Regions from separate parts of the Homo sapiens genome. Here region 1 is linked to region 2. The links are contacts of gene promoters, found by promoter capture Hi-C in blood cells and fetal thymus (Javierre and others, 2016). All regions are on one chromosome and are shown on one strand. The core of a region is centred on a gene start or on the middle of the fragment in contact, and the rest is flanking DNA. Distances in the headings are between cores, read along the strand shown. Region 1 holds the start of TRL-TAG1-1 (tRNA-Leu (anticodon TAG) 1-1). Region 2 holds the start of RPL23A (ribosomal protein L23a).

What was found. Contacts are between HindIII fragments. The CHiCAGO score rates a contact against its expected background, and 5 or more counts as called.
Region 1: a contact is called between a fragment that was not itself captured here and the fragment with the promoter of RPL23A in region 2, in 1 of 17 cell types (activated CD4 T cells). The highest score is 8.0, in activated CD4 T cells.

The regions. Positions count from the first base shown.
Region 1 is chr17:8,116,246-8,123,051 of GRCh38, forward strand. HES7 (hes family bHLH transcription factor 7) reads right to left here. Exons shown (of 4, transcript NM_001165967.2): 2 at 6,786-6,806; 3 at 6,098-6,185; 4 at 4,347-5,792. The coding sequence ends at 5,326. TRL-TAG1-1 (tRNA-Leu (anticodon TAG) 1-1) reads right to left here and starts at 4,150; the gene lies at 4,069-4,150. It overlaps TRR-TCT2-1 (tRNA-Arg (anticodon TCT) 2-1), which reads left to right and starts at 4,680; the gene lies at 4,680-4,767. It overlaps ALOXE3 (arachidonate epidermal lipoxygenase 3), which reads right to left and starts at 2,269. Exons shown (of 16, transcript NM_021628.3): 1 at 2,241-2,269; 2 at 1,599-2,058; 3 at 531-735. The coding sequence starts at 1,745. It also overlaps TRK-TTT3-5 and TRQ-CTG1-5. RefSeq lists enhancers at 1,435-2,634, 2,356-2,435, 2,516-2,585, 2,736-2,835 and silencers at 3,356-3,405, 3,536-3,625, 3,996-4,205, 5,146-5,605, 5,826-5,935. The HindIII fragment of the contact is 3,122 bases long and covers 3,582-6,703 here.
Region 2 is chr17:28,718,728-28,722,812 of GRCh38, forward strand. It overlaps RPL23A (ribosomal protein L23a), which reads left to right and starts at 1,258. Exons shown (of 5, transcript NM_000984.6): 1 at 1,258-1,303; 2 at 1,980-2,163; 3 at 3,996-4,085. The coding sequence starts at 1,279. SNORD42B (small nucleolar RNA, C/D box 42B) reads left to right here and starts at 1,823; the gene lies at 1,823-1,889. It overlaps SNORD4A (small nucleolar RNA, C/D box 4A), which reads left to right and starts at 3,855; the gene lies at 3,855-3,926. RefSeq lists enhancers at 1-514, 515-1,116, 773-822, 1,253-1,472, 1,813-1,972. The HindIII fragment of the contact is 1,784 bases long and covers 1,083-2,866 here.

The sequences.
Region 1 (6,806 bases), core at 3,893-6,392, about 21 Mb before region 2:
CTCTGGAAACTGAAGATGCTCAAGCCCAGCATCTGCAGAAGGCCCCAGAAATTCAACAAGGAATCCTAGCAGCACCTCTCAGGGACCTCATCCACACTAGAAAAGCTAGTAGTAGGGGAGGGAATGGGGCCTCTCCAGCTAAAATCTCTGAGCAGCCAGGGCTTCTCTACCTGTTAAAATCTAATGACTCAGGGTGCAGGTTAGTTCCTCTCTGGGGTCTGGAGGAACTCACTCTGGAGAAGTGCAGAGGGAGGCTGTGGAAAGCAAAGTGCTTCCTATGTGTATGAGAGAAGGGTGCCTGCCTATATGAGTGTATGTGTCTATGTGAGTCTCCAGAAGAGTCAATACCGTCTGCAAAACCCTCGCATTTCAGGGCTTGAGAGGCTCCCTTTTTTCAGAAAACATCTACTTGGGAGCCCAGAGTTTCTGACCTCAATCTTATTCCCTATACTCTGGGGCTCTGTGAGACCCCACTCCTAATCCCAAAGGACACCTTCTGCAGTACAGTGTAGTCCTCGTCTCTGGCCCACCTGTTCCTGGCCTCAGCTCCACGGTGCAGTAGCCTTCAATCCACTGATAGCAGGGGAAGTGGGATACACTACCATCCGGTTCGGTGACACAGATGCGGCTACAGTACCAAGAGTCCTTGCGGAAGAAAGCGTAGCGCTCCTTGTGTACACGCAGCAGCAAGAGCTCACCCAGCTCCGCTGTGCAACGCACCTTGTACTTCTGTACCTGAGGGGACCAAGACAGCAAGCAGGTGAGAGGCGGGGAACTGCCAAGGCGGTCCTTGCGCCTTGCAAGATGCATCTACACCTAAGCCTATTCGGGCATACAAACCTGAGCTGCTCCCAGCCCATACCGGGCTTTTGTATGAATTAGAAAAAGCTTCCCCGGGCCGGGAGAGGTGGCTCACGCCTGTAATCCTAACACTTTGGGAGGCCGAGGCGGGTGGATCACCTGAGGTCAGGAGTTTGAGACCAGCCTGCCCGATGAAACCGCTTCTCTACTAAAAATACAAAAAATTAGTCGGGCGTCGTGGCAGGCGCCTGTAATCCCAGCTACTTGGGAGGCTGAGGCAGGAGAATCGCTTAAACCCGGGAGGTGGAGGTTGCAGTGACCTGAGATCACACCACTGCCCTCCAGCCTGGGCAACAAGAGCAAAACTCCATCTCAAAAAGAAAAGAAAAAGGTGCCCGAGCACAGTGGGCACTGCATTTCACTAGCTTCCTAGGCCGGCTGGGAACTCTTGTGGAGGCCACCTGGGGCTGGCAGAGGCAGGCAGATCCCCTCGATAAGAGGAAACCCAGGCTCAGAGAGGGGAAGCGACTTGCCCAAAGCCCACGGTCAATTATGGGAGGAGTTTAGGAGCCAGGGGAAGTCCCTCTACTCCCTGTCCAACGCTCCTTCCTCTCCACAGTCCTGCCTGGATGGAGTTCATCATCTCCAGGAAAGACAGGGACCTCAATAGGGAAGGTGAGGAGGTCAGGGCCGGTATCCTGAGTTCAGCAGGATCTCAAGAGTCCAGGAGGAATACTCCTCCCGCCTGCGGCCCCTGCCCCTCTGAGGTCGCGCTTCCCTGTCTCCTTTGTACTCACCGATCCAGGGGCGAAGTCCCTGCCCATTCGATCTAGCCGCTGCTTGGGGCTTTCACCACACGTGCCCACCAGTGTGACAGAGATGTTGTCCAGTGTGCCGGCCCTCAGGTAGGGACCAGTGGTCACACACAGGCGGTACACTGCCATGATGGGAAGGAGGAAGGGATGCCCCGGCAACGCTGGCCGCAGCAGCAGCCGGCCTGGAGGAGAAGAGCGGCACGCCGGACAGGGCTGGGTTTCTGGGCGGAGGGCTAGGGGCTGCGGGGCTGGGTAGGGCTGAGGATGGGCCCAGCTCTCTCTGGGATGTTCCTGGGCTTTCTCTCTCCGAAGCTCCCTGCTGGCGGCTCGGGCTTCCTCTCTCCGCCCACAGTCTTGCACTCTAATACTTGTTTGCTTGCCTCTGACACAGCCGGTCCCTCTGGCTGGCTCACCCAGATGGATATCAGGAGCCTGGGTTCCACTGCGGAGGGAGGGATCAGATGCTGAGATGGAGAAAAGGAGGTAACGCCTGTATAATTGGGACACTGCCCTCCGCCTGGTCAGCGGCCCGGACTGATGCCCTGGAGTGCTTGTCCGCCCACTCCCCAATGTCCCCCAAGATCTGTTCCTCCCCATTCCCAGGCAGAGATGAGCACAGGGCACCTGCATTCCTACGTGTGAATCATCCGTGTGAATCACTAAACAGTGGAGAGTTGCACTTGGTCATAAATCACACGTGACTGCAGCCACACGCAGGTGAGTCGCACACGCATTCCAGCACATGTCAAATGGTCAGGAACAGCTCCCTGTCACCCCATACACCGATCCCCCCACGCATGGCCCTCTTTGTCCCCAGCCTTTGGCACGCCCGACCTCATTCTCTGCTCTGGAGTAGGGCAGGTCAGGAAAGCGAAATACAGCGCCGGCAAACAGGGTCTGAATGCCCCGCGTGGCATTCTTTCCGCTCCAGGACCGCCCTGGGCCTGCAGGATCCTGGGCGGGAGCCCAGGTGTCCGGGATCTGGGCCACTAGGGACTGGGGAGGAACCTCTCAGAGAAGCCCATAGCCCGCAGCGGCCCCGCGCGGCCGGTTCCGGCGCCGCACTGTTCCAGCCTCTACTATGGTACAGTCCCTGCGTCGCAGCCTCGGCGGGGGCTCTAAGAACGGGAGGCAGAAAAAGCTCAATCAGCAGCAGGCGAGCTTCACCCGCTGCTTCCAAATCTGTGCCAAAATATTCTATGCTGCACAGATAAAATCCTCTGTCGGTTCTACAAGCCTGGCTTTTCCTATAGAGAACCCTCTTATAAGCAAAAAGTAAAGCTCTCGTGAAGAGCCCGGATAGCTCAGTCGGTAGAGCATCAGACTTTTAATCTGAGGGTCCAGGGTTCAAGTCCCTGTTCGGGCGGCATGTCTTTGCTTTTGGGTACCGCACTTCGCATAAAATGGTAACAAAAATAGTTACTAGTTTTTAAAGCTAGGTGATACAGAAACTTGATTTCCACAAAATACAGCAAACGACGGTGGAGGGTAATAAACATACTTTAAAACAGTACAAACGCGAGCCGTATTATCGAATTTACATTTTCTGGTAGCCACATTACAAAGAATAAAAAGCAAGCGAAATTAATTTCACGGATCTATTTTACTTACCCTAATATACCAAAATCTTATTTTAACATATAATCAACATTCTAAAAATATTAATGAAATTTTAAGTCTTTTTGTTTGTACAAAGCCTTCCTTCAAAAGAAGATGTGTATTTAGAAGCTGGCAATACATCTGAATTCATATATTTCAAGTGCTCGATAACGGTGTCTACCATATCCAACAGCAGACTTTGTTTTGTTTTCGTTTTAAGTGACGGGTGTGGAAGACACGCAAAATAGAATGTCCAGTAATGTACACAATCTTGAAAGACACCACGAGGGAGGTTCCATGGTGTAATGGTTAGCACTCTGGACTCTGAATCCAGCGATCCGAGTTCAAATCTCGGTGGAACCTTGAAGCTTTTCTTTTAATATCAGCATGTTGAATATTGTTAATTGATTTTCACAGAGGGGATACTCCTATGACCCAAGATAATACGACAAAAAAAAAAAGTAAACTAGGACACTACCAATTATTTGTGCTTTTCCTACCGGATAATTGAGTCCTATAACACAGTGTTAAGAGAACGTACAATAAATTATTTAAATATGTTGGAAGTTGAGCTAACATTTGAAAACATGTTAAAATAGAGATGTTATGAAGAAACGAAATAATAGAGATGTTATGAAGAAACGAAATATTGCTTCAGCAGTTACCATCAGGTCTTAGCTTCTGGGATGGATGCAGGCCTATGATCTCTCTGGAAGACCAAACACGGAAGATGATGGTGAAACCATTACCAGGGGAATTCGTAAAATTACTTTCTGCATGTAAATAGGTGTAACCTCACAGAACTGTTAACAGAACTGTAGCAGGTGCGTAATCCACCAGAAAAACTCCAGCCTGGCAGCGGTGGGATTCGAACCCACGCCTCCGAAGAGACTGGAGCCTAAATCCAGCGCCTTAGACCGCTCGGCCACGCTACCTGCACGAAAACTTACTGTCCCCGTTGTCCTCCTAAGAGACTAGAAGTAAGGAATGGGGCAAATCTTAAGAGTGCCAAATTGATTCGTCTCCTTTTCCACATCTTTTAGACTGGAAATGAAGAACCATCGAGACTGTGGACCGCATAGCAGCAGATGGCAGAACAGATAAACGAGAAGAGACAAAAACACACAGAAATTTACAACAAAACTAGTTTATTTGGGTGGGACTATATCTGGGAGTGGGGAGCGCCTGAGCCGGAAACACCCCCCAAGCGGGCAGCCGGAGCTCTGCACTCGCTCGCTCAGCCATTTTCGGTTGCTCTCCCTCCCTGTTTTTTCGACCCATGTGCGCCCTCTCTCTCACCTGGCTAACATGCTTTGCGCCCGCTACCTCTACCTGGCTTGGCCTCTGAGATCCAAACCGCGCCCTCCTGGCATGTCCCGCCCAAGTCCCTTAGCCCCGCTCCCCAACCCTGCCCCATTCCCACTCTAGTACCCGTAAGCTACAAGACGCCGCCGTTCGTCGGGTGGCTCTGTGGCGCAATGGATAGCGCATTGGACTTCTAGTGACGAATAGAGCAATTCAAAGGTTGTGGGTTCGAATCCCACCAGAGTCGATTTTATTTCAATTTTTCCTTTTTATCCGTTTTTTTCTTAAAGGCCCCCATCCCTTCTCCCCCTACCCTATCTCTCTCTTTCCACCTGGTTTCAATTTCGATCTCAGTTCCCGCTCTGCTCTCTTCTTTACTTACCTGTCTGCCCCGGGGCTTGGGCCATGGAGAGCAGGACTGAGGGTGGGAGACAGAAGGGAAGGGAAAGTGGGCGTGGACGTCGAGATAAAGGCAGGCCCCTGGCTCGGGGACACACGGGGATTTAATAACCACTTTATTCCATGCACTAGGGACTCGGGAAGGGACTGGGACTGGGCTGAGGGGCAGAGAGAGTACAATCCTAGACGCAAGGGAGAAGTTGGGGCAGGGAAAAGGGACAGGAACCAGGGAAATATATATTTATATAGATACTCTAATATAGACCACATCTCACCCGCGCGCTGAGCCCGCGCGCCCCACTGCCCTCCCCAACACCTGCTCGCCCGGACGCCCGGGTCCCTCTGCTGCCCTCGGGCTGGAGTCTCTACCCCACCCCTAGACCCCGCCCCCACCACCCCCCAAGGCTCAGGGCCAAGGTCTCCAGAAAGCGGGCGGCGGGGGCAGCGGGGCCTTGGGCGCCCCGTCTTGTCTGTGAGGCGGCGGTGGCGGCGGCAGCAGTCCGGTGAGGGGCGCCGGCGCGCCAGAATCCCCGGCGCGCGGGGAGCAGAGGGATGGGGACCATGCGCAGCGCGGGCTAGGGTGGCCCTGGTGCACTGGGGGGCGCTGGTGCAGCGCAGGGCCAAGGGCCGGTGCGGCGGGGTCCAGGGATGGGCGCGGCGCTGGAGGCCTCGGATCTACCGGCTTGGGCCGGGGCGGTTTGGGGCGCAGATAGCCGTGCAGCGCGGAGAAGAGCTGGGCGCGGGCGGCCGGGCTGGCGTCGTGCGCGAAGGCCGCCAAGCGAAGCAGGCACTCGCGGAAACCGGACAAGTAGCAGCTGGCGAGCGCCTCGGCGTCCTGGACTGGGGACCGGGGAACCCCTGGAGCCGCGGCGGCTGGTGCGGCCGGCGGGAGCACAGGTGGGCAGGGCAGGGGCCCGGCAGGGGTGAGGGAAGGGGCGGGGCGCAGAGATACCAAGGCCGGACAGGCGCACAGAGACAGGAAGCCAGATGGACGGAAAGAGGGAGAAAATGAGGGAGACACAGAGACAGACACGCGCGGGTGTTATTAACCTCGCCTCGGAGCAGAACCGGCCACTCCCCAAGCCCACCATCCACCGCAGGGCCCGCCCACTCTGCCCCGGCCGGAGCCTCCTGGCGTCCCCCCTCCCTCCCTCCGCTGCCCCACCCCCGCGCTGTACCCGGGGGCTCCACCCGGCTTCGCTCCCTCAAGTAGCCCACGGCGAACTCCAATATCTCCGCTTTCTCCAGCTTCGGGTTCCGGAGGTTCTACAGACGGGAGGGGAGGGCGCAGAGACAGAAAGGGGTGGGGAGAAAGGGGGAAAGTGGCAGGGGGAAGAAGGGAGGGACGGATGCGGGAGCTGGTGGTGCCCCCGATCGCATTTGCGCACTGCCCACAGAACGCGCGACCAAATGCGGAGTGGAGATGACCAAGGAAAGTCCTGGCCCACCCTGAGACGAAACTGTCCAATCCTAGGGGTTGGAACCAATGCCCAACGCGTGAGGAGGAGATTTGAAACCGCAACCCAGGGAATGAAATTAACCACCCGACATAACAGAGGCTGGCTCATCAGAGGCTGGCTGTGGGGGAGGGGGAACCGGACACTTAGAGACCCAAAGGGTGAAACTGACCGACCCCGGGAGCGAAATTTACAGAACCAGGCGTGAAACTTACAGACCCGAGGGGTGGCGAAGAAGATCGCGTTCTGAGAGCGAGTGGGGGTCTGGGATGGAATTCCAAAGGCGGGACTCGGGTGAGGATGCCTTGGGGCCAGGGTTGCCAACCAAGCTTGTGTCCCCACCCCAGTGGGAAGCCCTGGGACGCGGAAACGGGAAGCTTGGGGACCTAGGGCTAGCGGAGGGACTGACCTGGTCCCGGGTCCGCTCCAG
Region 2 (4,085 bases), core at 8-2,507:
ACACCTTAGGAGAAGCGAACCTGAGTGTTAAGAAACCTTTCTCTGTGTCTGGAGCTGAATTTGAGGATGTAAAGATGACCAGGACACGGAAGGGAAGACTAGTTTAGGGCAGGGGATTGTGAGTGAAGTTACTAACCGGAAAAACTAGCGAATCTTGGAGAAATGTGTGGAATTTTCATAGAACTTCAAATGCATTATCAGGAAACGCAGTAAAACTTGACAGTATCAGTGTCGCAGGTAAAGAGGGGCAGGTGTGGCCGCCTTGTACTTCCTCTGACACTTCCCCCTCGTGACTCGATTATTTATTTATTTATTTATTTATTTATTTTGAGACAGGGTCTCACTCTGCCACCCAGGCTGGAATGGCTCATTGCAGCCTCGACCTCCAGGGCTGAAGCGATCCTCCCACCTCAGCCTCCCAAGGAACTGGGACTACAGGCACGCACCACCACGCCCGGCTAATTTTTGTATTCTTTTGTAGAGACAGGGTTTCGCCGTGTTGCCCAGGGTGGTCTCGAACTCCTGGGCTCGAAGCAATTCGTCCACCTCGGCCTCACAAAGTGCTGGGATTACAGGCGTGAGTCACCGCGCCCGGCCCTGACTTGATTTTTTTCTGCCACCAAATCACTGTGTTATTGATAAACCACATTCCTCTCTGGACCTCAGTTCGACCGAGCAAATCCTGCTCCAGCACTCTAGAACTTAGCTGTATCTAACTCCCGAGTCAATCCAAATGTGTTCTTTCCTCTTGGCAGCGTTCCTGCCTCCTGGCATGGCAATCCTCTTCCCTGAGACTGGCAGTTGCTCAAGATAGGAAGCTCCCGGGACCAGACCCGAGCGCCAGCCGGCTACGCCGTCCGCTGGCCTGAGCAAATAAACGCGTGTCTTCAAAAAACTACAATCCCCATGGTGGCACGCGCCTGTAGTCCCAGCTACTCTGGTGGCTGAGGCAGGAGAATGGCGTAAACCCGGGAGGCGGAGCTTACAGTGAGCCGAGATCGCGCCACTGCACTCCAGCCTGGGCGACAGAGCGCTCAAAAAAAAAACAAAAAACAAAAAACAAAAAACTACAACCCCCATGAAGCTTTAGTGCCTTTGAGGGGAGGAGTGGCGCATGTTTGTTCACGCACGAAAAAGAAATTAAACCTAACTACCGTTCCCAGAGGGCGCCGCTCTGCAAATTACCCAATCAGCTCTAAGTACAAAGCATCGCGAGTCTTTAGTGCTCTTTGGCGCTATAAGCCCGTGGGAACGAGCATTGGAGACCCTTTTCACAAGATGGCGCCGAAAGCGAAGAAGGAAGGTGTGTGTTGGTGATGGGGCCGCAGCTGGTTTACCGGGGATTGCCGCGCCGCAGAGCGAACGAATTGGGAACACGGCTGCTGGGCTAAGCCCTGAGGGCTCTGCTCCGGGGCTGCTCCCTGCGTTTCGGACACGCTGCAGTATACGTGGGCCGCGTGGGCCCAGCCTCGTGGGCTGAGTTCCGGTAGAGGGAGTTGGGGGGGGGCAACGCGGCAGGCATCATCCGCCAGGGAGGGCCAGACATTCGGTTCTGGGAAGCTACATGCATCCACTGGTTGGAGCTCCATGTCCCCGGGCCTGTAAGGAATTAGTGCCCTCAGCTTTAACCATTTTCCTTCTGGTTCATGTTCAACCGGGCTACATTACCCGCCCCTCTCTCCGCAGCGTGGTTTTGCGATGGGGTATGTGTAAAATTCGTAGGACATTTTCTGGAAAGTATCAAGCGTTCATTCAGTGCTACTTTGTTTCATAGTCGTATCCCTGGAGTTACTTAGAGTTGGTCGCTTTCGCCTCTGGTATCGTGCATATGATGGAAAAGTTTTAATCTCCTGACACTTGTGATGTCTTCAAAGGAACCACTGATGCACCTGTGGCCAGGGTGGCCCACTGCAGTTCTTGGGGCCGGAAGTGACCGATTTCTAAATCCCGCACCCACGTTTTCTTTCCTTTTCTCCCAGCTCCTGCCCCTCCTAAAGCTGAAGCCAAAGCGAAGGCTTTAAAGGCCAAGAAGGCAGTGTTGAAAGGTGTCCACAGCCACAAAAAGAAGAAGATCCGCACGTCACCCACCTTCCGGCGGCCGAAGACACTGCGACTCCGGAGACAGCCCAAATATCCTCGGAAGAGCGCTCCCAGGAGAAACAAGTCAGTACTGCCCCCTGTACCCATGAAAAGATTTGGGTATTCTCCATTGGTAATTTGGAAATTCACTCACTCTGCGTGATGGTTTCTCAAACGCAAATTGTGTCCAGTGTGCTTCTCTAATTGGAAGTATGAGGAGATTGTTTCTGCTGCATTTACAAAACTGGCAGGATCAGCCCAGAGGCCGGGCGCGGTGGCTCACGTCTGTAATCCCAGCACTTTGGGAGGCCGAGGGGGGGCGGATCACTTGAGGTCAGGGGTTCGAGACCAGCCTGAGTGACATGGAGAAACCCCGCGTCTATTAAAAATAGAAAATTCGCCGGGCATGGTGGCGCATGTCTGTAATCCCAGCTACTCGCGGGAGGCTGAGGCAGGAGAATCGCTTGAACCCGGGAGGTGGAGGTTGCGGTGAGCGGAGATCGTACCATTGCATTCCAGCCTGGGCAATAAGAGTGAAACTCTGTCTCAAAAAAAAAAAAACCCTGAGTCTCTCAAAATTTGTTAGGTTAATTATTGCTTCACATGTGGTCACGGTTTGAAAACTTATTTTGGGGGGAGTATAAAGTAGAATACAGAGATTCCTTGCTCATAGCTCCTACTGCTATCGGGAACAATCCTTGAGGGTGAGAACGTGGATTGATTCTTGATTGATAGTGGGGATTCCATTATCTGTATTTGGCAGTTATGGCCTGCTGCGGTGTATAGAAGCTTCTTTCCATTCATTTTCCCGAATTTTCATACTGCTCAAGGAACAGTTGGGGGGGAATGGGCAGAAGGTTGGGCACTTGAGTATTTGAGCTATCGGTAATAACTGACTTTTTAGGGAGCACAGATTTGAGTAGAGCCATGGTAGTAGTTAGTACCAATGGGTTTTTGCTGCTTCTACTCTTTCTTAACAGAAAAAGTGGATTGTGTTCATATAGGAAAGCAGTTCACAGACTGTCTTCCTGCCCCTCCCGCCACCAAGCTGGACCTAGAATCAAGTGTGACTTTAAATGGGGAAAGCTGTGTTACAGTTGTGCTTAAGCCACTGCTGTGGCTTAACCTCACCTATGCATAAGAATTTGCTCGTGGCTGGCCGGGCGCGGTGGCTCGAGCCTGTAATCCCAGCACTTTGGGAGGCTGAGGCGGGCGGATCACGAGGTCAGGAGATTGAGACCATCGTGGCTAACACGGTGAAACCCCGTCTCTACTAAAAATACAAAAAAAATTAGCCGGGCGTGGTGGCAGGCGCCGCTAGTCCCACTACTGAGTCCCAGGCTGAAGCAGGAGAATGGTGTGAACCCAGGAGGCGGAGCTTGCAGCGAGCCGAGATCCTGTCACTGCACTCCAGCCTGGGCGAAGCGAGACTCTGTCTCAAAAAAAAAAAAAAAAAAGGAATTTGCCCCTGGCCCGATTCTCCTGCCTCAGCCTCTTGAGTAGCTCGGACTACAGGCGTGCACCACCATGACCAGCTAATTTTTGTATTTTTAGTTGAGAGGGAGTTTCACCATGTTGGCCAGGATGGTCACGATCTCTTGACCTCGTGATCAGCCTGCCTCAGCCTCCCAAAGTGCTGGGAATACAGCCATGAGCCAGCACACCTGGCCCAGAGATGATTCTTTAATCACTTGAGGTTGTAAGAGCCCTTCAAGAGAAAGAAAATGCACAACGTTCTGCCCCTGGGATTGGGGCTTCAGGCCCTTAGATTTCAGGGTGCAGATGATGACACTGTAAAGCGACCAAAGTCTGAACAAAGTGATTGGTACCTCGTTGTCTGATGCACCTAGGCTCTCCTGGCTCTGGGCTCCAAAAGAATGGGCCCAGGCCAGGTGACCCCATTTTGCCTCTCCCAGGCTTGACCACTATGCTATCATCAAGTTTCCGCTGACCACTGAGTCTGCCATGAAGAAGATAGAAGACAACAACACACTTGTGTTCATTGT